6 separate regions of the Homo sapiens genome follow, and all the other regions are linked to region 2. The links are contacts of gene promoters, found by promoter capture Hi-C in blood cells and fetal thymus (Javierre and others, 2016). All regions are on one chromosome and are shown on one strand. Each heading gives the region's core, a stretch centred on a gene start or on the middle of the fragment in contact. The rest is flanking DNA. Distances are from core to core; before and after follow the strand shown. Region 1 has its middle 94 kb from the start of BCL2L14. Region 2 holds the start of ETV6 (ETS variant transcription factor 6). Region 3 has its middle 120 kb from the start of BCL2L14. Region 4 has its middle 73 kb from the start of BCL2L14. Region 5 has its middle 39 kb from the start of BCL2L14. Region 6 has its middle 19 kb from the start of BCL2L14.

Region 1 (4,480 bases), core at 754-3,253, 330 kb after region 2:
CACCACCTTGGGTTAGAAAAGGCCTTCTTAGAAAAGATACCAAAAATACAAATGAGAAAAGGAAAAAAGATAGATAAATCAGACTTCTAATTAAAAACTATTGTGCTTTAATGGACACCATCAAGAAAGTGAAAAGACACCTCGTACAATGAGAAAGAATATTTGCAAATCATATACCCGATAAGGGACTTGTATCTGGAATATACAAAGAACTCCTACAACTCAATAATAGAGACAAAGAATTAAAACATAGGCAAAGAATCTGAATAGACCTTTCTCCAAAAAACATATAAAAATGGCCAGTAAACACGTGAAGAGGTGTTCATCATTATTAACTATCAGAAAAATGTAACTCAAAACCACAATGAGATATCACTTCATACCCACTAGACAACTATAATCAGAAAGAAAGATAATAACAAATGTTGGTAAAAATGTGGAGAAATTCAAATCTTCAATATGCCGCTGGCGGAATATGAAATAGTACAGCCACTTTGGAAAACAGTCTGGCAATTTCTTAAAAGGTTAAACCTAAAGTTATCATATGAACCAGCAATTCTATTCCTGGGTATATACTCAGGAGAAATGAAAACATATATCCACACAAAAACTTCTATACAATGTTTATAGCAGCATTATTCATAACAGCCAAAGACCAAAAGCAATCCAAATGTCTGTCAACTGATGAACAGACAAAATGGTAAATCTATACAGTAGAATATGATTTGGCCATAAAAAGGAATGAAATACTGATACAAGCTACAACAAAGATGAACCTAGAAAACACTTTGCTAAGTCAAAGACGCCAGTCACAAAAGCTGCATATTGTATGACTCAATTTCTATGATATCAGAGTAGGCAAATTATAGAGACAAGAAAGTAGATTAGCGAGTTGGCTTGCGTAGGGTGGGGTGGGAAGAAACAGGGAGTCACTGCTAATGGGTGCAGGATGTCTTCGGGGGGTGATGAAAATGTCCTAAAAATGATTGCCATGACGGCTATATGGCTCTGGGAAAATACTAAAAACAATTGCGTTGTACATTTTAAGTGGGTGAATTGTATGGTATGTGAATTACAACTCATCAATGTTGATAGATGTGTGTATGCATATATGCACAACTGAAAAAATAACATTCCCCGAGATTTGAAACAGAAGCAAAATTAAGAGAAAACGTTGGGAGTTAGACCCAACATTTGGGCTTTCATTCACTTGGGAGAAAGCGTCAAAGTGTCTGAAAGCTAGAAAAATGGAATTAAGGGAAAATATACTCAGGAAAACCAAGCTGGAGTGTAGATTGTGTTAAGCTGAACAAAATAATAAGGCACTATCTTGTTTAAAGAGGACAGAGCACTAGCATATGACTTTGACCATGCTTAGAATGCTTCCTGATAGGAAGGAAAAGGAACCCACACAGACCAGCCACATCTCCTTCCCTGGAAGTGACCCCATCTGTGATACGTGAATAACACAACTCTTCCCCCAATTATAAAAATAACATATTTAAGATAGTATAAAAATGCAGAGAATGGCGCGGGCAGGAATCATTTAATCTTGCCATGCAAAGATAAGTACTAATATTTGTCAGAGGTCCCTCCTCAGCACATTGTTCCATATATTCAAGCTCATGCAATACATACACTTTTGTATCTATATTTTACACTTAAAATCAACATTTTTCATTATCATTTCAAACTCTCATAAATATTACTTTCAATCAGAAGAATAAACCATAATTTATTTAAGAATTTTCCTAAGCCAGGGCTTTTATCTTTTCAATCTTTCACTTTTTTTTAAATGTTGCAAAGCAAATTTTGAGCATAGAGGCCAGGCATGGTGACACATGCCTGTAATCTCTGCACTTTGGGAGGCTGGCAGATCGCTTGAGCTCATGCATTTGAGACCAGCCTGGGCAACACAGCGAGACCCTGTCTCTACTAAAAATAGAAAAAAATAGTCGGGCGTGGTGGTGCACACCTGTGGTCCCAGCTACTTGGGAGGCTAAGGTGAAAGGATCCCTTCAGCCTGGGAGGCAGAGGTTACAGTGAGCCAAGATCATCCCACTGCACTCCAGCCTGTGTGACAGAGCAAGATTCTGTCTCGAAAAAAAAGAAAAAAGAAAAAAGAAACTTTCGAGCACAGATTTGTCTTATCAGATTCAATTATTTCTTAACATATAAATAATTTTATACTAAAAGGTGTGAAACTAGTGGTCTTCATAGTGCTAATCAAAAATGTTTTATTAAGTTGGTGCAAAAGTTATTACGGTTTTTGCCAGTATGGCAATTACTTTTGCACCAACCTAATACTAACTTATACATTAACAGCAGTAGGTGATACGCCCATTCACTATCAAACATGAGGACTCCTGTTCCCCTTCCAGAAGGAATCCTAAGGAAAGAATTCTCACTGCAGCATGATTTAAGATAGCAAAAATTGAAGGAAAAATAAATAGCCATCAATATTGGAAAAGTAAAATAGATCCTGGTGAGTTATTTTTCAGTGATTAAAGATAAGTGGTTTCAAAGAATATGAAAAAAAAGATTTTCAGCCTAAGCAATGTAGTGAGACCTCATCTCTACTAAAAATAAAAATTAAAAATTGTCCAGGTGTGATGGTGCACACCTGTAGTCCCAGCTACTTCGGAGGCTACTGGGAGGATCGCTTGAGCTTGGGAGGTCGAGGCTGCAGTGAGCTACAATCGAGCCGCAGCACTCCAGCCTGGGTGACACAAGCTGAAAAGAAAAAAAAAAATTCACAAATTCTCAAAAGAAATGGCTTGTATGTCAAACACCAAATTCTTTGTGAGCTCGGGTAATATAAAAACACACCAGCAGTGTAGGCCGAGCGCGGTGGCTCACTCCTGTAATCCCAGCACTTTGGGAGGCCGAGGCGGGCAGATCACAAGGTCAGGACATCGAGAGTATCCTGGCTAACACGGTGAAACCCCATCTCTACTAAAAATACAAAAAATTAGCCGGGCGTGGTGGCGGGCGCCTGTAGTCCCAGCTACTCAGGAGGCTGAGGCAGGAGAATGGCATGAACTCAGGAGGTGGAGCTTGCAGTGAGCCGAGATCGCGCCACTGCACTCCAGCCTGGGCGACAGAGTGAGACTCCATCTCAAAAAAAAAAAAAAAAAACAAAAACAAAAACACCAGCAGTGATTAAGTCTGGGTTGTGGGATCATGAGTGATTTTGTTTACTTATTTGCACTTTTCTCTATATTCCAATCTGCCTATACTGACAACTTACTACTTTCATAGTTTTTAAAAATCTTTGATTTTATAAATTAGCCCATAAGTAAATTTGCTTTCAGAGACTATCCTGCATAGAAAAGGTGGAAGGTGGAAATCCACAGGTGCAATTGAAACATGGTCAGGGGGCCAGGCGCAGTGTCTCAAGCCTGTAATCCAAGCACTTTGGGAGGCCAAGGTGGGCGGATCACCTGGGGTCAGGAGTTCAAGACCAGCCTGGCCAACATGGCGAAACCCCGTCTATACTAAAAATACAAAAATTAGCCAGGTGTGATGGTGTGTGCCTGTAATCCCAGCTACTTGGAAGGTTGAGGCAGGAGAATCACTTGAACCCATGAAACAAAGATTGCAGTGAGCCAGTGGGCGACAGAGCAAGGCTCCATCAGAAAGAAAGAAAGAAAAGAAAGAAAGAAAGAAAGAAAGAAAGAAAGAAAGAAAGAAAGAAAGAAAGAAAGAAAGAAAGAGAGACAGAGGGGGGGGGAGGGAGGGAGAGAGAGAGGAAGGAAGGAAGGAAGGAAGGAAGAAGGCAAGAAAGGCAGGCAGTGGGGGATCCGGAGTCTTGCAGCTCTGGCTTCTAGCTCCATCCATGCTGCCTTCTGGGTGTGCTTTGTGTCAAGGCCTTGACTGGACCTCATTCCTCATTGTTACAGGGAAATGGCAGGCTACCTGTATGCACTAATGATCCTGAGCCCATGTTCCTCAAGAGTGCCATCCCAGGGCTGGGCTGCAGCCGTCTAATGTGCATTAACAGTTGATGCACATGAGGCAAGCATCCAAGAAAGGATTCTACATTTCCTGCCAAGCATGGGAGAAGGTGAACCTGGATAATGCTTGCACTTGGGAAGCTAAACACAATTTCAGCTTCAAGGAAACCCCCAGATTGCAAAATTCTTGGACAGAAAGCAAAATATATCTAATATTTCTGCCACCATCTCTGTGAGTTTTCTGCCACCATTCTCCACCATGACCTCTGATCTGTCTAGCAGCCTGCTGGATTTCACACGAGCAAAGCTAAAATGGGAGGAAAGAGGGCATATGAAAAAAAAATTAGATTGACAGAAAACCCAGAGTCAATAGGACAGTCTAGACTCCCCAGCTTGTAAACTATTCATAATGACTCACTCAATAGTCAGGCATTGACAACAAGCTGAATGACTGTGGACCTAGAGCTACAATATTGGCAATGTTATCTTTAATTTGAAGAGCTCAAATAATTCTGGGAGGCATT
Region 2 (4,261 bases), core at 1,335-3,834:
AACATCTGCAGTCAATTTTTATGAAAGAACACTTTGAACACCAAGTGAAATGTTACTTTCCCCCCAAAAGAATTCCATGCCTTTCATTATTATACCTGTATTAAAATTGCTATTATTACACTTTGAATTGACAAAATAAAAAACTGTGGACTTTTTTTTCTTCGTGTTATATAAGTATCTACCTGACATTCTCAATTTTGTCTCTTGGCCCACAAAGACTAAGGCATTTACAGCTGGGCCCTTTACAGAGATTGGCAACCCCTGGTCTAAATGTAGTTTTTGCTACAGTTGTCAACTATGTTTTTTGCTTTGGAACCACAAACATTCTACTTCAAACTACTACTTCTATGAATCACTTGTAGACGTTGAGGAGGAGTTAGGAAGAAAAGTCGAGAACTAATTTAGTCCTGGGGTTAAATAATAATTGTAGCCAACTTGAATTGAGCACATATATTGTGCAGCTCTCTGCTAAGGAGGCATTTGTATATATTTTCTTATTTAATAAGATAATCTTATGAGCTAGGTACTATTTCTCCCCATTTTACAGAAGCTTAGTGACTGTGTTGTCAGGGATCACATTGCTAAGTGATGTGGAAGACATAACCTAGCAATGGGACATCTAAACCAATGTCTGCAACATCAATTAAGAAAAGCAAAAGAGGCCGGGCGCGGTGGCTCACGCCTGTAATCCCAGCAATTTGGGAGGCCGAAGTGGGTGGATCACGAGGTCAGGAGATTGAGACCACGGTGAAACCCCGTCTCTACTAAAAATACAAAAAAGATTAGCCGGGCGCGGTGGCGGGCACCTGTAGTCCCAGCTACTCGGGAGGCTGAAGCAGGAGAATGACGTGAACCCGGGAGGCGGAGCTTCCAGTGAGCCGATATCGTACCACTGCACTCCAGCCTGGGCGACATAGCAGACTCCGTCTTAAAAAAAAAAAAAAAAAAGCAAAAGAATACAGAAAATTGTTAAAGGGGAGAAGGGGGTGGTCAAAGGCAGAGGAGTCGGTGTGGACAAGACAGAGATCTCTTGGAGAGAGGGCAGGACTACCAGTTGACAAAACCTGTTCAGGTTCCTGGAGGCTCACAACCACCAGTTCCCATCATCCCAGCAACAGCACTCTTTCCCACCCTAGCCTCGTTCGTAATGATCTGATCAATGTGTGAACAAAAATATTGTGTGTACAAGTCTCAACACATTTGATAATGTGAAGAGGTGAAGGAAAGTGGGTAGGAAAAATCTGTAGGGTGGGGAGACTCGGGGAAATGTGTCCTGGTCCAGTGCAGGTAACATATATGGGTATATATGCGTATATACATATTTATACCATATTTAATATATTACTCTATTAAGAAATTATAACAAATTTCCTTTTACATTACACATCCACATATTAAACCCCCAATATGTGCTAACAAGGTTAGAATTTAAGTATAATGATAATGTTCTCAGTTTTTTGTGGTGGACACTTTAAGAGAGTGTAAATAATAATAAAAATAATAGAGTGATCAGATCACTTGTGCTCAGGGCTAGACCCTTCAGCCCCAACGGCCTTAACCCCCCTCAACTGCTTTTCCAACCAAATATTCCTCCCCCTGCAGGATCCCAGGGCCATCCAATCAACCGGCCAATGACGGTTTCAGAGAAGCGGTCCTGGGGAGGGGTATTATCTGCAGGAACACGTCCTGCCAACTTTGTAGTCGAGTCACCTATTTCGGTTGGTAGCGGCCGCTATTTCTTTAAAAGGGCAGTGGATTTCGAAACAGGAGGGGGAGGTCAGGAAAAGGAACTCAGCTGCCTTTGATAACTGCCCTGCAGCCTTCCCTTCCCGGAGCGCGTGCTCGGCTCGGGAAGCGCCCGCGGCCGCCGCATCCCCGAGCGGGCGCGTGGCGCCACCTCTTTCCGGGGCGCCCACCTTCCCCGGGAATCCCCCCGCCCGACGGTCCCCCAGCGTCTGCGGCGCGGCCGCCCCGGCTTTGTCTCCGGCGTCGCGCTCGGGCGCCCGCTCTCCCCACATTTCCCCGTGTGCAGGCTGTAACCCGATCTCCCATTTCCTGGTGGATTCTCTTAAAGAGGCAGCGGTCGAGAAGCAGAACAAAGGCTATTGTTTTATTTCCTCCTTCGGATTCCGCGTCCTAACCGGAATGGCCCTTCATAGATAATTACTTTCGTTGCATCTGCGCTTAGTGAAACGTTTCAAAACCCTTGTGCACATCGATGTATCCAAGAGACGGAGCCAGGGGAGGTGGGAGGAGTTTAATAAAACCTGTTTTGTGGTGTCTGGGGCCACAATGTAACGTTTTTTAAAGGTGTCTTCCTTAAGCCCGGAAATTGGCTCGGCCAGCGGGAGGTCTCGCGGCGTGGAGGGCGGGCGCCCGCACCGGGGGCCGGCCTGGGGGGCTGCGCCGCTCGCCCCGCTCGCAGCCGCGGCCCCACGCGGCCCCGCTACCCGGGTTTCCTCCGCCCGCGCCCCCGCGGCCGCCCCTCCCCCGCGCAGCTTTTATTTCCCCGATGCCGGGCTGTAACCCGAGCTTTTATTTCCTGGTGGCTCCTTTAAGAGGCAGAGCTCAGTGCTGGGAATTCACGTCAGTTTCTGCACTGAAACTCTCAAGATCAATGAGCAAAGAGCTTTCTCAGTTCTGCCTTTCAGTTTCTCTCTTCCAGGAAGGAAAACATTCGAGAGAGCGAGGGAGAGCCGCGGGAGGGCGGGGGGCGGGGGCGCCGGCTGCGGGTGGGAGGAGAGACCGGGAGGCCGGCCGGGCTGCGTCCCGGGTCCCCGCGCCGCGCCGCGACCTGCAGACCCCGCCGCCGCGCTCGGGCCCGTCTCCCACGCCCCCGCCGCCCCGCGCGCCCAACTCCGCCGGCCGCCCCGCCCCGCCCCGCGCGCTCCAGACCCCCGGGGCGGCTGCCGGGAGAGATGCTGGAAGAAACTTCTTAAATGACCGCGTCTGGCTGGCCGTGGAGCCTTTCTGGGTTGGGGAGAGGAAAGGAAAGTGGAAAAAACCTGAGAACTTCCTGATCTCTCTCGCTGTGAGACATGTCTGAGACTCCTGCTCAGTGTAGCATTAAGGTAAAAATCTTCTCCCCTCCTTCTACGTGGTGGAAACCCTGAGCTGCACCGGCCAGGGCAGTCGTGCTGGGCTCCTCAGAGCAGGCTGTTGCAGTTGCTCTGTTCGCAGGAAATTATTTGGGGCGAGAGGGAAAGAGATGCAGCTCGCGGTGGCTGCTGTACCCTTTAGCGTAACCTTGCTACTCCCCCCCACCGCCGAGCCCCTGCCGGCTCCTCGGCCCCCACCCCCTTGCTTTTTGACAATGAAATGCCGGTCACAATTGGTCAGAGCAACCCGGATTGTCTCCAGAACCGTAAAACACCCCCGTAATTAGTGCGCTTAAAAAAAAAAAAAACAAAAAACAAAAAAAAAAAACCTGCTCCCTATTCCTACACCCAACATGTGACTGAAATATAACTTTTGTTCCCGAGGGGTGGTCGTCTTAGAAAAAAAGTTGTTCAGTTTCCACTGCGATAGAATCTTTTTATTTTTTTAAAGGACTCTCTGGGTCTGATCAGACAGGATTTTTTTCCCCCTCGTCTGATTGTAATTGCAAGCGCTGTCGGAGAGACAGTCCTGGTGTCAGCTTTTCCTAGGCATTGCACAATGAATTTTTTTTTAAAACCAAGGTGAATAAAGTTGCTGAATAGTTATTTTACTCCGATCCATATGAAAGTTGAGCAATCCCAAAGTAGAAAACTCCTGTGATGGAGGGAGAGGAAGAACTAAGCAACCAGGCAAAATGACCTTCTGTGTTTGACAGTGCAGAGAGGCTATCTAAGCAGCACTCTGTAAATGCAGGGCGGTAGATGTTTGTAAACACACTGCTGGGCTACCCAGTAGTTGTGTGTATGCATGTCTATATATCTGTAAAGACTGTGGTGCTGCGGTTTGTTGCTTCTAAAAAGTTGTTGTAAAGTTTGCCACCATTGGGAGGCAGGATGATTTATCCATCTACCCGTGTTATTTTTCCCATCGCTGCATTTATTGTACACTTTATTCATTTCGCTGTTCCACCAGTACCCAGGTAGAAAGCCTTCCGCTCTTGTGAGAGGCTGAAGCTGCTGAAGTTTGTTTTTGGTTTGGCCTATTTAATGTGTGTTCACTGAATGGACACTACAGCAACAATGAACAAATAACCTGTTTTCTTCGTCTGTGGGGAGTTAGAAAAACCCTTCCTGGTTTAACACTGCCTTTCAATTAGAGTCTG
Region 3 (4,228 bases), core at 1,535-4,034, 300 kb after region 2:
CTCTGTTAAAATATCCTGCTAGGCATATGCAATCCTGCAGGCACATGACTTGGCAAGGTCTGTTCTTTATACGAAGAGAAACATGCTCCTTCTTTGGGGGACATTACCCTGCCCCAGTGCACAGCTTGCTGAGCAAAGTGCAGCTTAGATTTCAGCCCCTCCCTGACTCCTCAACTGGCACCACCATTTGTGACAACTCCAGAGCTGACTGCCTGGGAGGAAACAGAAGGAACCAGGGCCTCTCGGCCTCTCGGAGTCTCTTCAAAGTCAAACAGCTTGTGTGGTGGGAACAAGATGACGGGGAGTCAGAAGGATGGGTGCTGTGGTCACAGCATGAAGCACGGGGTGTAAGACTTCTGGGGGGATCCTCAGCGTGGGATAGCAAGTCCTGTGGGAGGGTGGAGTGCAGTGGTGATAAGATCTTGAAACTGAGGAAGCAGTTTGAGAGGCAGATCATCTATAGGGGTATTAAAAATTGAGTGGAAGAAAATGAAGAATGAAGCCTCAGTGAGAGAATCACAAGGAAACAGTAGGTGACAATGAGAGGAGGTAGAGCCAGGTGGTAATAGCCTCGGACGACTTCACACAGGGGCAGAGTAGCCATGGGAGCAAACAAGCGACAACCACAACAGTCTAGCTTTCCTCTCCTGGCCCCTTGCTACCTGGAACATCAATTTGTTCATTTAAGCAAATATTTATTTATTTAAACCAATAATGAACCTCCATGTCTTAGTTGGCTCAGGCTGCCAGAACGAAATACCATGGCTTAAACAATAGGAATTTATTTTTCATAGTTCTTGTAAGAGTCCATTCTCGCACTGCTTTAAAGGAATACCTGAGACTGGGTAATTTATAAAGGAAAGAGGTTTAATTGGCTCACAGTTCTGCAGGCTGTACAGGAAGCATAGCGGCTTCTGCTTCTGGGGAGGCTTTAGGAAGCTTCCAACCATGCTGGAAGGCAAAGCAGGAGCGACAGGTCCCACATGGAGGGAGCAGGAGCAAGAGAGAGAGGGAGGAGGAGGTGCTGCACACTTTTAAACAACCAGATCTGACGAGAACTCCCTCACTATCCCAAAGAGAGTACCAAGTGGGGGGGGTGGTGGTGTTAAACCATTCATGAGAACCCGCCCCTATGATCTAGTCACCTCCCACCAGGCCCACCTCCAACACTGGGAATTGCAATTCTACATGAGATTTGGGTGGGGAGACAGACCCAAACCATATCAGTTCTGGAGTCTGGAAGTCGGAGATCAGGGTGTCAGCCAGCATGGCTGGGGTCTGGTGATGGCCACCTTCTCACTGTGTCCTCGCCTGAGGTCGGGGCAGAGAGAGAGAGCACATATGAGCTCTCTGGTGTCTCTTCTTATAAGGACACTAATCCCACCATGAGGGTCCTACTCTTACGACCTCATCTGAACCTAATCACCTCCTAAAGACCCCCTCTCCAAACACCATCACATTGGGCAACCCAACTTGTTATCTCCAGCCTGAGCCTCCCCCCAGAACTCTTGGACCCCTGTGCTTCATGCTGTGACCACAGCTCCCATCCTTCTGACTCCCCGTCATCTCGTTCCCACCACAAATATTCTTTGACTTTGAAGAGACACCGAGAGGCCAAGAGGCCCTGGGTGCCTCTGTTTCTTCCCAGGCAGTCAGCTCTGGAATTGTCAGAAATGGTGGTGCCAGCTGAGGAGCTCCTCAGTGGGCTTCAATGCATGATTGGGGAGGGGAGGGACACAACTCAGTCCACAGCACTCCACTATCTGTGAACAAAAACAAAGTCTCTATTCTCATGAAGCTTACTTAGCTTCTACTAGAGGGAGGTGGACAATAAACAAAAAATAAATAAATGATATATTGAGGTAACAAGGCCATAAAAAGATTAGGTTGGTGGGGTGAGGAGCGGCTGGGCATTACTCTGTATAGAATGAACATGGAAGATGAAGGAGTAAGACAGTGAATATCTGTGTGAAGAGTTTTCAAGTCTGAGAGCAGCAAGTGCAAACACCCTGAGGCAGGATCAGGTTTTACCTGTGGAGCTGCCGAAGAGAGAGGGAGGAGGAGGAAAGTAGAATTTGTATTCGTTGGAGTGTAACTGGGGGGCCAACCACGTAGGCGCATTGTAAAGACTTCAGCTTTTACAGCTGAAGGTGGAAAGCCATGGCAGGTTAAAGGGGAGGGAGGTGACATGACCGAGAAAGGGAGGATGGGAACCCTGAGGTGAGAAAGTGACACGGGGGTGCTCCTCGGGAGAAAGGTGTGTTGCAGAAAGGACAAGGAGGTGGCAGCAGAGTGGTTTGGATAGGCTGAGTGTAGTGGTGTGAGGGTCCCACAGGCACAGACCCCTGGGGTCTGCAGCAGCCAGAAGGGGCTGCCCTGTGGGAGACCCATTCTGGGGAAGGGCTGAGGTTCCATGTGGAAGCCGCCGGCAGCAAGTTCCACAAGGTCTCAGGATGGAAGATGAGAGGGGATATGGCAAAGCCTGGGTGCCTCTTAGAATGTGCAGAAAGGCTTTCTGGAGAGTAGGCAGAGGGCATGAGTCTCTCTGGCCAAGAGCTGCCTCCTGCTACGTTTTGAGAGGAAAAGGTAGCACAGTGGAAACTAGGAAAGCTGTCCAGCCAGGAAAAGCCCCCATCCCTGAGATCTGGGTCAGCCTAAAGGTTCTGATGCTTTGGTGAGCCGGAGGAGGAGCTTCACAAGGAAGAGTCACTGGAAGGAGAAACCAGAAGCAGGGAGGGAAGGGCTGCCACCTGAGGAGACGTCCTCCTTCACGACTTTGCTGGCCTGGTCACCTGGGCCTGCAGGGGAAGGGCAGGGAGGTGCCACCTATTGTGAAGGAAAATCAGCCACAGTGTATGTCTAAGCAAAAGCCACTCTCCAAACCCTCGTTTGCAATTTTGTCACTTCTTTGGCAACAAGCCCCCTGCAGCTGTTCCACCCAGAGCCTCTGCCAGGTGACCTGGCCGTGCCCAGTGCCCCACAGCTGCAGCCTGCTGGCGGGGACTCCAAGTCTCCCCTGCTCCCAGCTTTCCTGACTCGGGGCTGTTGGGCTTGGAGGGAGCTGCATTGGGGGACAGGTGAGGGAGGAGGCCGGGGCACCAGCAGGAAGCTCTGGCTCTCCTTCTCTTTCCTGGTAAAAGCAAGGCACAAAGCACTCTTTGATCTGTGCCCTCTGCCAGTTCTGGCAGGGCTGCGCTTGTCACTGTTCCAAAAAAGAGCAGAAGGTTACTTAGCTATGGATGAATAATAATTGGGCATTTGTCTAACAGCTACTGTACTGATGAATAATTAAAATTTTTATTACAATTGAGGCAAAGAGCACTCTACCCATACGGATGGTCTGTCAGCTCTGCCAGAGGAAATGCAGGTAATTGAAGAGTGTCCTCCAAGTTCTGAAATAATAGTCATGATCATGGCAAAGATGTCTGGGTTAAAAGCTGGGAAAATAGGTGGACAACCAGACCCAATCACCAAGGCTTCTTCCTTTTTGGGATGTAATAAGGTAAATCGGCTAAAGCTGGTCTTGGGAGTGCAAATGGCTGGAACAGTCAGGGAAAGCTAGGAGTGAAAACCAGGAGGAACAGAAATAAAGAGAAATAGATGAAGACTTACTAGGCAAATGCCCTTATATAGTAGCTGATGAGGATGACTTTGATGAGATAAGAGGGGACAGCTGGAGCATAATGGAAAAAGTCAGAAATGAGAACACCCTTGTCAAATGGCTTGGCTCCTTTTTGGCTGTAATCTTGTGCAAACTCACTTAACCTGCACAAGCTTCCCTTTCTGCCTCTATAAAATGGGGATGATACTGTTTAATCATTGGCTCATCTTCTGAGGATTAAACAAGATAATGTTGAGAATATTTAATAATTATGAAGGCAGACAGCAAATGCAAGTAATTATAACTCAGAAGTCAGAATTAAAGGTAACTGGGTTCAAACAGCTTAAGAGTTGGGACGGGTTGAGTGAATGAGGATACAGAAACAGTGGAGAAGAAAATCAGTGGTGTTGGGGTTGGACCAAATGAAATCAACAGTGGAATTTCACTAACTTAAATACATTGTGCAAGGTAAACAAATTCCTTTAGTTATCAAATACCATTTGATACTTCCCGGGTGTGTTAATAAGACAGTCCACTCAAAAAATGGACCACTAAATGATAATTATTTTGATGGGAGAGTGTCTATGGAATTCATACACCCACGAAATTATACTGTGAGGTGTGACC
Region 4 (4,860 bases), core at 1,318-3,817, 350 kb after region 2:
GACAGAGCGAGACTCCGTCTCAAAAAAAAAAGGTAAAAGAATGAAACAATGGCTACTCCATAGGCAGAGCAGCCCCAAGGGCTGCTGGCTGCCCATTTTTACTGTTAGTTCTTGATGATATGCTAAACACGGGGTGGATTATTCATGCCTCCCCTTTTTAGACCATATAGGATAAGTTCCTGACGTTGCCATGGCATTCCTAAACTGCCATGGCTCTGGCGGGAGTGTAGCAGTGAGGACAACCAGAGGTCAATCTCTTTGCCATCTTGGTTTTGGTGGTTTTTGGCCTTTTTTATTGCAACCTGTTTTATGAGCAAGTCTTCATCACCTGTGTCTTGTGGCGACCTCCTAGCTCATCCTGTGACTGAGAATGCCTAATTTACTGGGAATGCAGCCCAGGAGGTCTCAGCCTTATTTTACCCAGCCCCTATTCAAGATGGAGTTGCTCTAGTTCAAACACCTCTGACAATCCCACAAAATGAGAACTCAGTCCCACAGACTGTCCCCCCACTTCAGACACCAGTCACAAGTTCGGGTCCCCCGGACTTCTGACAGCTTCAAGTTGGAGTTTCCACAACCCTCTCTTTGGGTTCCATTAACTTGCTAGAGCAGCTCGCAGAACTCAGGGAAACCTACTTACATTTGCTGGTTCGTTATAAAGGATATTACAGAGGATACAGATGAAGAGATGCACAGGGAGAAGTATGGGAAGAGGCACGGAGCTTCCATGCCCTCCCCAGCATGCCACCCTCCAGCAACCTCCATGTGTTCAGCTATCCAGAACTCTCCAAACCAGGAATTTTGGGTTTTTATGGAAGCTTAATTAGGTCGGCATGATTGATTAAACCACTGGCCATTGGTGATCAACTTAACCTTCAGCCACTCCCCCTCCCTGAGGTTGGGGCATGGGAAGGAAAGTCCCACCCTCTAATGCTAATGCTGCCTCAGTCTTTGTGGTGACCAGCCTTCATCCTGGAGCTGCCAGCCACCAGTCAATCGGTAGCATACAAAAAGACATCACTTTAAAAATTCTAAGGATTTGGGCCAGGCGTGGTGGCTCACGCCTGTAATCCCAGCACTTTGGGAGGCCAATGTGGGTGGATCACGAGGTCAAGAGATCGAAACCATTCTGACCAACATGGTGAAACCCTATCTCTACTAAAAATACAAAAATTAGCTGGGTGTGGTGGCACATGCCTGTAGTCGCAGCTACTTGGAAGGCTGAGGCAGGAGAATCACTTGAACCTGGGACGCAGAGGTTGCAGTGAGCCGAGATTGCGCCACTGTACTCCAGCCTGGTGACCTAGCAAGACTCCATCTCAAAATTAAAAAAAATAAAAATAAAAATAAAAATTCTAAGGATTTTAGAAGTTGTACGCCAGGAATCTGGTATAAAACCAAATATAGGCCGAGTGCAGTGGCTTACGCCTGTAATCCCAGCAAGAGACTAGCCTGGGCAACATGGCAAAACCCTATCTCTATAAAAAATACAACAATTAGGCAGTTGTGGTGGCATGCGTCTGTAGTCCCAACTATTCAGAAGGCTGAGGTAGGAGAATCGCTTGAGCCCAGGAGGTGGAGGTTGCAGTGAGCTGAGATCATGCCACCGCACTCTAGCCTGAGCAACAGAGCCAGACCCTGTCTCAAAATATATATATATTTTTTTTTTCGTTATAAAGGATATTATATATATACACATATTTCACAATATCACAAAAATATATCTATTTTAAAGTACTGAACAAAAAAACGTTGGGAGGATCAGAACTCTGATATTTTCTGCTTTAAACTCTGAAATTAGTTCAAAGATTCTGGTGCTATTTCTTGATGATATCCATCGTGTGTGTGTGTGTGTGTGTGTGTGTGTGTGTAAAACACACACAGCATTGGCAGTCAAGCAAACAGGCCAAGGTAGAAATTGAGAATTCTGAGATCTGTCTAAGTCAACCTTTATTTTCTTTATTTGGAAAATAAGAACAAAAGTAACAAAAATACAGCAAAATTATGACAAATAAATCTGACATTTAAAAAATCCATAACACTTTTAACATCCACATCTATTCTGAATTACATAACTATGGAATTTCTTATGTTCTTCATATTATTTTGTAAGATTTATGTACTGTCTGCCCAAAAAAGTGTACACTATTATCCCCATTTTTGCAGAGGTGGGAGTTAGATATCTAGACATTGAGGATCTTAGCTAAGGACAACAGCTGGTAAGAGGTTGCATAGTTAAAAAGTGTTACCAGAAAGGGGTCTAGATCCAGACCCCAAGAGAATGTTCTTGTATCTCGCACAAGAATTCTAAGTGAATCCATAAAGTAAAGTGAAAGCAAGTTTATTAAGAAAGTAAAGGAATACTGGCTCACGCCTATAATCCCAGCACTTTGGGAGGCCGAGGTGGGTGGATCACCTGAGGTCAGGAGTTTGAGACCAGCCTGGCCAACATGGTGAAACCCCGCCTCTGCTAAAAATACAAAAATTAGCCAGGCATGGTGACACAGTCCTGTAATCCCAGCTACTCAGGAGGCTGAGGCAGGAGAATTGCTTGAACTTAGGAGGTGGAGGTTGCAGTGAGCTGAGATCGCACCATTGCACTCCAGCCTGGGAGTCAGAGCAAGACTCCATCTCAAAAAAAAAAGAAAGTAAAGGAATAAAAGAATGACTACTCCATAGGCAGAGCAGCAGTGTGGGCTGCCCAACTGATTATACGTATAACTATTTCTTGATTATATGCTAAACAAGGGGTGGATTATTCATAAGTTTTCTGGAAAAGGGGTGGGTGATTCCTAGAACTGAGGCTTTCTCCCCTTTTTAGACCATATATGGCAACTTCCCGACATTGCCATGGCATGTGTAAATAGTCATGGCACTGGTGGGAGTGTCTTTTAGCATGCTAATGCATCATAATTAGTGTATAATGAGCAGTGAGGGCGACCAGAGATCACTCTCATCGCCATCTTGGTTTTGGTGGGGTTTGGCTGGCTTCTTTACCACATCCTGTTTTTATCAGCAAGGTGTTTGTAACCTGTGTCTTGTGCCAACCTCCTGTCTCATCCTGTGACTAAGAATGCCTAACCTTCTGGGATTGCAGCCCAGTACGTCTCAGCCTTATTATACCCAGCTCCTATTCAAGATGGAGTCGTTCTGGTTTGAATGCCTCTGATAAATGCAAACCCAGGTCCTTCTGGCTCCAAAATTCAATCAATGTTGCCTCTTTTCAAAATATTTCTATCTGCTTGGGAAAATTCCAGCTGATTTGCCTTAGGGGAGAATTTAGGATCCCCTATTAGTCATGGTCCCCTGGGGAAGGAAGGCATCTTCTCCAACCTGGGGCTGCCTGAGGAGAACTCACCAGTCACCACCAAGACACACTGACTGCAATGCAGCCAGCCCCCTGACTTTTGGAGGAATCCTGGTGCTTCTTCCCACCTTGAATATGCTCTAGCCTAACTGTCTGCCTGGGGCACTAGTGTTCCTGCATGGCTTCCCGACCAGCCAGGCCTTTTCCATGATTTGCTTCTTTTCTTCTCTAAAGTATCCTTGTTACTTTTTTTGTTTTTAGACAGGGTCTTGCTGTATTGCACAGGCTGGAGTGCAGTGGCTCAATCACAGCTCACTGTAGCCTCGACCTCCCAGGCTGAAGTGATCCTCCTGCCTCAGCCTCTCATGTAGCTGGGACTACAGGCCTGCACCATCATGTCCAGCTAATTTTTGTAGGGGTTTTTTTGAGACAGAGTCTCACTCTGTTGCCCAGGCTGGAGTACAGTGGTGCTATCTTGGCTCACTGCAACCTCTGCCTCCCGAGTTCAAGCGATCCTCATGCCTCAGCCTCCCAAGAAGCTGGGACTACAGGCACATGCCACCACACCTGGCTAATTTTTTGTATTTTTTTTTTTTTTTTTTTTTTAGGAGAGATGGGGTTTTACCATGTTGGCCAGGCTGGTCTCAAACTCCTGGCCTCAAGTGATCTGCCAGCCTCAGCCTTCCAAAGTGCTAGGATTACAGGCATGAGCCACCATGCCCGGCCAATTTTTGTATTTTTTTGTAGAGATGAGGTTTTGCCGTGTCGCCCAGGCTGGTCTTCCTTGTTATTTTCTAAGGAGACTCTACCTTGCTCCAGTTCTGGCCTGACCATCCTCTTCTTGAGTTTCCCATCCTGATACTCCTTTTCCTTGGGTGGGTTTGATGAAGTTACAGCAATTCCAACCAAATTAGCTGTCTCTCCCCTTCTTCAAATCTTCATAAAGTAACACCCCCGGCTTCTGCCTACCCTTGCCTGGTCTCCCCAGGCCATCCTGGCTCCAATGCAGCAAGCTTTCTCTGGCTCAACCTTTGTGCTGGGTTAAGATCCTAATCCGACCTGTTCCTTCCCTCCTTCCAATACCCAAAAATGTTTTGGATGTTTTAATAAATCAAATGAGGAGTTATGACCTTCTGATTAAAGTTTAATAAATTTATCAAAGAACTATGAGAACATTCAGATTAAAAAATAATGAAATGTAAAATAAAAGCAATAAAGACGAATAATAAAATCAATAGATATTATTCTAACATCAAGAAGCAAATTACAATAAGAAAATTAGATTATACCAAAGGCAAGAAGTGATTCATTAAGAGAAAGAGAAGGGACACATTTCAAATAGAAATCATGTTAAGTAATAAATTATTGGATTATTTGATAATCCAATGAGTGAATCATAAAAATACATAGGAAAAGATTTAAATTTCTTGCTGATGACACCAAATACTGGCATCAATGAAGCTAACATAAAATTCATACTATACCACGAAAATGAGGACATGAATATCATCAGTTCAAAGAGTATTTAAGATAGAAATTCACGAGAAAATCTC
Region 5 (4,258 bases), core at 309-2,808, 380 kb after region 2:
TATGAAAGACATGCAAAGAAACCTACTTAATCCTGTGGGTGGTGAGAGCCACAGAAGAGCATGATGAAAAGGAGACCCAGGCTCCTCTGTGCTCCAGGTCAGTATCTCTGAAAGCAGTTCCCAAGCTAAATGTCATGATGAAAGCACAAGGAGCCTCAGAGAGCTCAGCCTGCAGAGGAATTCATTCCTCAGGGGCAGTGTGCACTGCTCACTCAACTTTGCTTCTCCAGCACCCACCCAAGTCTGACCCCACTGGAGGCACTAGGTTCATTGTACAGAACTGATATTAATAAACTTCCTTATCCAGAACTTGTGCAATAGCCGAGCATAGTGGCTCAGGCCTGTAATTCCAACACTTTGGGAGGCCACGGCAGGCAGATTGCTTGAGCCCAGGAGTTCGAGACCAGCCTGGGCAACATGGTGAAGGCCCATCTCTACAGAACTACAAAAATTAGCCAGGAGTGGTGGTGCACGCCTGTGGTCCCAGCTACTAAGGAGGCTGAGGTGGGAGGATCTCTTCAGTCTAGGAAGTCGAGGCTGCAGTGAGCCATGATTGCAACACTGCACTCCAGCCTGGGCAAAAGAGTGAGACCCTGTCTCCAATAAAAAAAAAAACAAAACAAAAAAGAGAACCTGTGCATTTTAACATTATCTCCAACTATGGAATTCATTCAATCACCAACTTTTATTAACCATCAAGCAGGGAGGGAAGATATGAACAGAAATACAGTCAGGGCTTTACGACAGGGATACATCTGGGAAATGCATCATTAGGCAGTTTTGTTGTGTGAACATGATAGAGTGCACTCACAGAATCCTAGATGGTACAGCCTACAGCCTACAACACAAACAGGCTACGGTGTATAGCCCATTGCTCCTTGGCTACAAACCTGTACAGCAAGTAACTGTACTGAATATCATAGCCACTTGTAACACAATGGTATTTGGGTATCTAAACAAACCTCACGTGAAAAAGGTACAGTATAAAAGATTAAAAATGGGCTGGGCGTGGTGGCTCATGCCTGTAATCCCAGCACTTTGGGAGGCCAAGGTGGGCGGATCACGAGGTCAGGAGATCGAGACCATCCTGGCTAACACAGTGAAACCCCGTCTCTACTGAAAATACAAAAAATTAGCCGGGCATGGTGGCAGGCGCCTGTAGTCCCAGCTACTCAAGAGGCTAAGGCAGGAGAATGGCATGAACCCGGGAGGCGGAGCTTGCAGTGAGCCAAGACTGGGCCACTGTACTCCAGCCTGGGCGACAGAGCGAGACTCCATCTCAAAAAAAAAAAAAAAAAAAAGATTAAAAATGGTACACCTGTATAGGGCACTTACCAAAATGGCTGTTGCAGAACTCGAAGTTACTCTCGGTGAGTCAGTGAGTGAGTGGTGAGTGAATGTGAAGGACTGGGATATTATTGTCCACTACTGTAGACTTTATAAACACAGTACACTTAGGCTACACTGTTTATTTTTAAAATAAAGTAATTGAGCTACAACATGACAATGGCTACAGCGTCACTAGGTGATAGGAATTTTTCAGCCCCATTATAATCTTATGGGACCACCTTCATACATACAGTCGGTTTTTGACTGAAACATCATTACATTCAGCACGTGAATGTAATTGCGATGAAGTGAAAGATAAAGGTTATAGTTCTAGTGTATCCACAGTGCTTTAGGAGATGAACTGTTAGGGAAAGCCAGAAAAATCTCCACCACGGAAAAAATATTTGGCCTGCGTCTTGAAGGATAAATAGGAAGTCAGTACTCAGACAGGTGCCAGTGTTTTTCAGCCTGAGGCAGGGAGGTATGAGAGACAGCTGGAAGGGTTTGAGAATGGGTGGTGAGAACTTACACTTACTGGGGACTGGATATAAGAATGCAGTAAGACGTGGACCTAGCACCGTGATTTTTCGACCTGGGCTACACATCAGAAACACCTAGCGAGCTTTTAAATCTTCCAGGGCCCAAACCACATTGTGAACCAATTAAATCAGGACGTCTGGGGCTAGAAGCCAGTCATCAGTATCTTTTTTTAAGCTCCCAAAGTGATTCCAATGTGCTGCCAAGTCTCAGAACCACTAGTCTAGAAAGGAGGGATAAGGATTTTCAGCAGCCCCCACAGAACCGGCCCTCCTGGTGACCCTGCAATCCTGGCACACACACCCCACCCCGCCTGGGAGAAAGACCGGCCACACCACAGTCATCGGCTGTTTCCTGCTGCTCCTTTCCTCCCACCAGCATTTTACTCTGAAATAGTGGTTCTCAAAGTGTGGTCTCCAGACTGTAGCATCAGCCTCAGGGGGAAATTCTTAAAAATGCAAATTTCCCAGCCGCACCCTGGACGCATTCACCCAAAAACTCTGGGAGTGGAGCCCAGCAACTGAGCCATGCTAAGGTTGGTGAGCCGCTGCTCTGGAACATTGATCCCTCCCAAACTGCAGCAAAGCAAGCACCTGGGTGTAGCTCTGGCTGTGTAGGTGCTACTACAATCTGCTGGAGTCACTGCTTGTCGGCAGAGATGCCGTGGGAGCTGGCCTGGGTGCCTCCACGTTGGCCGTCACCACCAGGCAGTGGCCTTTGGCCTGGAATCGAAGGTACCAGAGGGCTGATAGCTCAGTTTTTTTATGGCACCAAGAAAAGACTTTCAGATTGGAGGTATGGGATTTTCTTTATTTTTTAATCCTCTTTTAATATAAAGTGGCCCCTTAGCAAACTTTCAAGATATTTCACATCAGAACTGGCCGGGAAATCCGGCATGTGGACAGACACGGATATGCCGTGTGCATTTTTCCGTTGGAGGAAGAGGGTAGGCTTGGGTGCTGGAGGGTGTTGCCTGGGGGCGGAGCGAGAAGGAAGAAAGGGCGCTGCTGGTTCACACCTCACCCATGCCCTCCTCTCAGGCCCCAATCAGGATGGAATTAAAAGACCCTGGGAGGAAAATAAGGAAAGCAACAAAGGAAATGAGTTCCCCATACAGAAAGGGAAATTGCCTTTCCCGTTAAGGTCAGACTGGTCCGAAGTAAAGGACTGGTGCGCCTTAGCAACCGCCTCTGCTGAAGCCCTAACGCTGGAGCTCTTTCGCCCTCGCAGAATAACCGGGACTTTCTTGCAGCCGGAACCAGCCACGTCCTGATTCCACACTCCCTTGAGGAGCCAGCCAGCTCCACATTTACTCAAAGAATCCGAAGGGCACCAAGTGGATGCTCTGCCACACGATTGAAGAGGGCAAGCTGTCTGGGGGGTTTTCCACCTCTTTTCAACTCAACTATTCTGAGCTGAAGTACTGGACCCGTTTTGTTTTTCCTGTTTTTTCCTGCTTCGGTAAATCTGGAAAAATCCTGCAGGTCTGAAAAACTGTTGGACTTGACAGCGTGTGTGTAGCGCCACCTGGTGACCACAGCTTATCAAAACAGCTTCCTTCTGGGGCTCTTGTGGATGTACATCAAAGGCTCCAGCTTCCAGACAGGTACACATCCTGTTCTCACGCCCGGCCCACTTTCCCGTGGGAATGTCAGCCACTCTGATTTGCCTTGGCTGAAAACCTCCTGTCTTTGCATGGAAAAAAACACAAATAATATGAACAAGCAACAGAGTTTTCTTTCTCTCTTAAGTAACCAAGCATTTAAAATCTTCTAAAGCACACATTTCCCTAATTGAGAAAGGAAGCAGAAGAAAAATTTCTGGCTGAAATTATAAATCATAATAAATGGTCGGAAATACCTTCTCCCTTAGATTCCTGGGGTCCTAGTGTAGAGGAGACTTCAGTTGCCCTTGACACTACAACATCCTGACTAAAAGCCTGTTTCCAAGGTGATATTTGATAGACATGAAGGACCCAGGTGGAAAAGAAGGTAGTCTGGACGGCACGGCAAGGAGTGGAACACGCAGGCTATGAGGTGTCAGCAGAAATCAGTTCTGGTCCTGGCACTGCTACCAACTTGCTGTGTGACCTTGGGAAGTTACTTAAGCTTTGTGGATCTCAATGCCCCAGACTCGTTAACTTCTTTACTATTTTTTCCCATAAATTCAGTGTTTCTGAAAGATGTTGCCCACCAGAATGCATCTCTAAAATAGGAGCTTAATAAGCTTTCTGTCTTGAGGGATCAGACGTATAAATGTCAGGCAGGCCTTCTGATGATCATGATGCAACCAGAGTTACCACAGTGAGTCCATATCACAGACAAAGGCGAAGACACTTGATCCCTTCTTAACCTGGTCTCCCACCCATGAATGATTTTTGTTAGGATTTCAG
Region 6 (4,396 bases), core at 589-3,088, 400 kb after region 2:
GAAACACCGTTCTACACTGCAGTCTTATTCTATCCCACTATTATTACTCCCAAAGATTCTAAGGTCCCAGTGCTTTCGCTTCATCCTAGAGGCTAAATGGGCTCCCCTGGACTCGCCTGGCAGAACTAACCACCTAGAAGAACGTTATTGTAAGGGGGAAATGTGAGTGCTACATAAGTTTCTTATAAATGTGCTTTTGAAATAGAGTCCACTCTTAAGTTTGATATTTCCTAAAATTTAATGTGTGAAGGAAGATGCTTGGGAGACAATCCGTTTATCAGGCTGATATATGGCAGATAGTCTACTGACCTCCCTGAGCAAGAACCTTAGGAATGAGGCCAGGTGGCAGAAACACTCAGGGCCAAGGGTAGGGAGCAAAACTGTGATGTAAAGAGACCTAGATGGACTTGGGAGGAGGTGGGGTTCAATAGGAGGCCACGACTAATGCCCTGGCATGCAAAGGCTGGACAGGAGTCTTGAAAGAGCCTCAATTAGCTGGGCGTGGTGGCGGGCGCATGTAGTCCCAGCTACTCGGGAGGCTGAGGCAGGAGAATGGCGTGAACCCGAGAGGCGGAGCTTGCAGTGAGCCTAGATTGCGCCACTGCACTCCAACCTGGGCGACAGAGGGAGACACCATCTCAAAAAAAAAAAAAAAAAGAAAAGAAAAGAAAAGAAGAAACAAAGAGCCTCAAAAATATGGAAAACCAGATCCTAAGAGCAAAATGCCAAGGGGGACACTTATTAGTGAGGAGTCTGCAAAAACAGAAAGGTTTTAGCCAGAAGCTTATAGGAGTAGACCTGGAACCCAAATTGAAAAGGAACAGTGCGACCCGTAATTTGAGAAGGAAATAGAATAGGCAGAAGAACTACAGAAACTATAGCTTCGAGTCTAAGAGCCTATTTACAGGGGTGTCCAATCTTTTGGCTTCCCTGGGCCACACTGGAAGAAGAATTGTCTTGGGCCACACATAAAACACACTAACACTAATAGCTGATGAGCTAAAAAAAAAAAAAAAAAAAAGAAAAGAAAAGAAAAGAAAAAAGAATGGCCGTGCATAAATCTCATAATGTTTTAAGAAAGTTTACAAATTTGTGTTGAGCCACATTCAAAGCCATCCTGGGCCTCATGCAGCCCGTGGAAGCTTGCATAAGAGAGAGATTTAGGACCTTTTGGCGGAAGTGCTCGATAAGGATTGAATAGCACCATAAACTGAAGCTAAACTGAAAGGTTTTAGAATTTAACTTAAGACACCTCAAATGCTTTTAGATGAAACTCAGGACTTTTCACTGTAGTAAAGTTCAGCGTGAAATTGACCTTGTAGGGGCACCAGACAGCAGTGAGCAGGGTGTATAAGAGTGAGGGAGGGGTTAATAAATAGAGATGGTGGGAAAAGGAGCTGGCTTTTCGTGAGTTCAGCTTCTTGCAGACTAGACTAGCAAGAGTCAAGAATGAACCTAAGCCAGACTCAGGTCTACTGGGCAGTGCTAGGCCTGTCTCAACCCTGTTTGCACATCAGGTACCCCATGCGTCTGCTGTAGTCTGTAGCTACATGGGAACCTAAAACATCACCGAGGTTTCTAGTGATGTTGAAACTCAGCTAATAAACAGGGAATCCCGAGGGTTCCCCTCTACTCCACTCCTGACAGTGGCCATCCTGCCTCTGCTTGAATACCTTAACTCGCCTCTCATGAGGCACCCATCTCCTCATTAAATGATTGTCACTGGGAAGAATCCGCCCCACACAGCCAGATCAAATTTACCCCCTGGTAACTTTCAGCCCCTGGTCCCCATTCTGCTCTTTAGCACTAGGTAGCTGAATCGAATCTTTCCATGAGAGTCAATTCCATTCCTCCTAAATCTTCTCTCTTCTAAGATAAATAGTCCACATTATACAATCTTAATACCCAATTCAATGAGCACTTCATGATAGTCTAATATATGCAAAGCACCATGCTTGTGCCAAGTGGGACCCTAAAGCGAATATTATCTCCTTGCTCTTTAGGCAAACAGGGTGAAGACAAGAGGCATAGGTGATGGACACTAAAACAAAGACCGTAAGTACTGTAATAGCTACACACAACTTACAATCATATAGGCATGGGGAAAGAGTAGCCCAGCTTACCTTGGAGGATCTGGAAAGGTTCTAAGAAGAAGTGGAATTGAGTTGGAGTTGGAAAGACTTCAACAATCAGATGTGAGAAGGACGTGGGTGGTGAGTGCAAAGAAAATAGGACACGGCTGAGGACCTTGTTTTCTTTTTCTTTTTTGAGGTTTTTTTCTTCTTCCTTTGTTTTTCGTTTTATTTTTATTTTTCATTAACAAGTAGTAATAATACATGTTTATGGAGTACAATTTGATGTTTTGATATAGGTTTACAATGTGGAATGATTAAATCAGGCTAATTAGTAAATCCATCACCTCACAAACTTACCAATTTTTTGCAGTAAAAACATTTAAGATCTACTTTTAGCAATTTTGAAATATACAATGCATTATTACTTATTATAGTTACCATGCTGTGCAATTGATTAGTAAAGCTTATTCCTCTTGTCTAACTGAAACTGTGTAGCCTTTTCCCAACCACCGCTCCACCCCCAGTCCCTGGTAACCACCATTGTACTCTCTACTTCTATGAGATCAACTTTCTCAGATCCTACCTATGAGTGAGATCGTGCAATATTTGTCTTTCTGTGCCTGGCTTATTTCACTTAGCGTAGTGTCCTCCAGATTCATCCATGTTGTCCCAAATCACAGGATTTCACCCCTGTTTAAGGCTGAGTAGTATTCTATTGTGCATATATACCACATTTTCTTTATTCATTCATCTGTTGATGGACACCTAGATTGATTCCATATCTTGGCTATGGTAAATCGTGTTGCAATGAACATGGGAGTTCAGGTGTCTCTTCAACATACTGATTTCAATGCCTTTGGATAAATACCCAGAAGTGGGATTGCTGTATCAGGACCTTGGTTTCTTAGCTTCTGTCTGACCTTGAGCATACCTAAAATAAGAGCCCTGAACGAGATAATTTCTAAAGTTTAGTGATAGAGACCAAAAGGAGTATACGTCTGAGCATTCCAACTTAGGCCAAAGCCTAAAAGTGAGAAGCCTGCCCATATCAAGGGAGTGAGGTGTGTGTTTGGGGCAGGGGTAGTAGAAGAGCAAGACGGTTCATGAATTCAGTATTCTTGTTTCACTGATGCAGCACCCATCACCATTCTGATCAGGTCCCTTGGGGACATGGACAGTGTCCTTAGAATGACAATGATGATGGTACCACCAGCACCACCACCACCATTTCTCTAGCATGTGGGTGAGCCAAACACCTTTGGAAACACCTTACATATTTACATTTACATCCTACTGAATCCTCATAACAGCCCTGTGAGATAGATAGAATTTTTATTATTCTCATTTTACAAATTAGAAAGCTGAGGCACAGAAAGGTTAAATAACTTGCCCAAGTCCATAGGGCTAATCTAATAGCAGAGCTGGGATTTGAAGGCAAGTAGTCTCACTCCCTGCTTTTCTTCCTCGAAAAACACAAGGGCAGGGCTGAACTCAGCTCAGGGGACACAATCTATACCAGGACAAGGTTACAATGGCCCTATAACTTCTTCTTCTTCTTTTTTTTTTTTTTGAGACGAAGTTTCACTCTTGTTGCCCAGGCTGGAGTGCAATGGCGCAATCTCAGCTCACTGCAACCTCCACCTCCCGGGTTCAAGCAATTCTCCTGCCTCAGCCTCCCGAGTAGCTGGGGTTACAGGCATGTGCCACCACACCCGGCTAATTTTGTATTTTTAGTAGAGATGGGGTTTCTCCATGTTGGTTAGGCTGGTCTCGAACTTCCAACCTCAGGTACCCGCCTTGGCCTCCCAAAGTGCTGGGATTACAGGCGTGAGCCACCATGCCCAGCCGGCAATATAACTTCTTTTGCATTCTCATTAACTCAGCCTCAGACGACACTGGCTTCCTTGGAAGCCACTGCATACTGATGATTGAAGTGGAGCTGACAATCACCTAAAAACCCCTAAATGCCTTTGACATGAGCCACTCTTAAGCCAGGTCTCTCCCATTCTGTTCACGTGTGGCTGATCAGTTCAAACTAAATGTTGGGTTTTACGTTGAACCCTATACAATTCTAGGTTTTAGCTTATAGTTTCACCCTACTATAATTTTGAAACATGATATGTTACCTAATGTTACCTCTCCCGGTTTAGTAATAACATAAACAAAAACAGTTGACAGTTATGGGGGCCCTGACTTTGTGCCAGACACCCTGCTACGTATTTGTTTGTTTAATGTAATACCTTATATAATCATTTAGTCTTTACACAAAGTTAAATATTATTATTATTCTCACTTAATAGGATAGGAAACCAAGTCTAGTG

What was found. The method cuts DNA at HindIII sites, captures the fragments that hold promoters and counts their contacts. A CHiCAGO score of 5 or more calls a contact.
Region 1: a contact is called between a fragment that was not itself captured here and the fragment with the promoter of ETV6 in region 2, in 3 of 17 cell types (activated CD4 T cells, monocytes and naive CD8 T cells). The highest score is 6.8, in activated CD4 T cells.
Region 3: a fragment that was not itself captured here is called in contact with the fragment with the promoter of ETV6 in region 2 in 2 of 17 cell types (activated CD4 T cells and non-activated CD4 T cells); the score reaches 5.8 in activated CD4 T cells.
Region 4: a fragment that was not itself captured here is called in contact with the fragment with the promoter of ETV6 in region 2 in 2 of 17 cell types (activated CD4 T cells and non-activated CD4 T cells); the score reaches 6.0 in activated CD4 T cells.
Region 5: a fragment that was not itself captured here is called in contact with the fragment with the promoter of ETV6 in region 2 in 15 of 17 cell types (activated CD4 T cells, M2 macrophages, M1 macrophages and 12 more); the score reaches 23.3 in activated CD4 T cells.
Region 6: a fragment that was not itself captured here is called in contact with the fragment with the promoter of ETV6 in region 2 in 1 of 17 cell types (non-activated CD4 T cells); the score reaches 5.3 in non-activated CD4 T cells.

What each region holds. Positions count from the first base shown.
Region 1 is chr12:11,974,822-11,979,301 of GRCh38, forward strand. No RefSeq gene overlaps it. Among named protein-coding and RNA genes, the nearest start is that of BCL2L14, 94 kb to the right of the region's middle. The HindIII fragment of the contact is 6,562 bases long and covers 1-4,480 here.
Region 2 is chr12:11,647,090-11,651,350 of GRCh38, forward strand. ETV6 (ETS variant transcription factor 6) reads left to right here and starts at 2,585. Exons shown (of 8, transcript NM_001987.5): 1 at 2,585-3,071. The coding sequence starts at 3,039. RefSeq lists an enhancer at 1,488-1,587 and silencers at 1,768-2,007, 2,298-2,507, 2,718-2,767, 2,778-2,937. The HindIII fragment of the contact is 9,207 bases long and covers 549-4,261 here.
Region 3 is chr12:11,947,150-11,951,377 of GRCh38, forward strand. No RefSeq gene overlaps it. Among named protein-coding and RNA genes, the nearest start is that of BCL2L14, 120 kb to the right of the region's middle. RefSeq lists an enhancer at 2,675-3,459. The HindIII fragment of the contact is 1,976 bases long and covers 1,797-3,772 here.
Region 4 is chr12:11,995,769-12,000,628 of GRCh38, forward strand. No RefSeq gene overlaps it. Among named protein-coding and RNA genes, the nearest start is that of BCL2L14, 73 kb to the right of the region's middle. The HindIII fragment of the contact is 3,502 bases long and covers 817-4,318 here.
Region 5 is chr12:12,030,132-12,034,389 of GRCh38, forward strand. No RefSeq gene overlaps it. Among named protein-coding and RNA genes, the nearest start is that of BCL2L14, 39 kb to the right of the region's middle. RefSeq lists enhancers at 2,173-2,222, 2,673-2,772 and a silencer at 3,224-3,518. The HindIII fragment of the contact is 4,828 bases long and covers 1-3,972 here.
Region 6 is chr12:12,049,793-12,054,188 of GRCh38, forward strand. It overlaps a transcript of BCL2L14 not described here. Among named protein-coding and RNA genes, the nearest start is that of BCL2L14, 19 kb to the right of the region's middle. The HindIII fragment of the contact is 1,396 bases long and covers 1,141-2,536 here.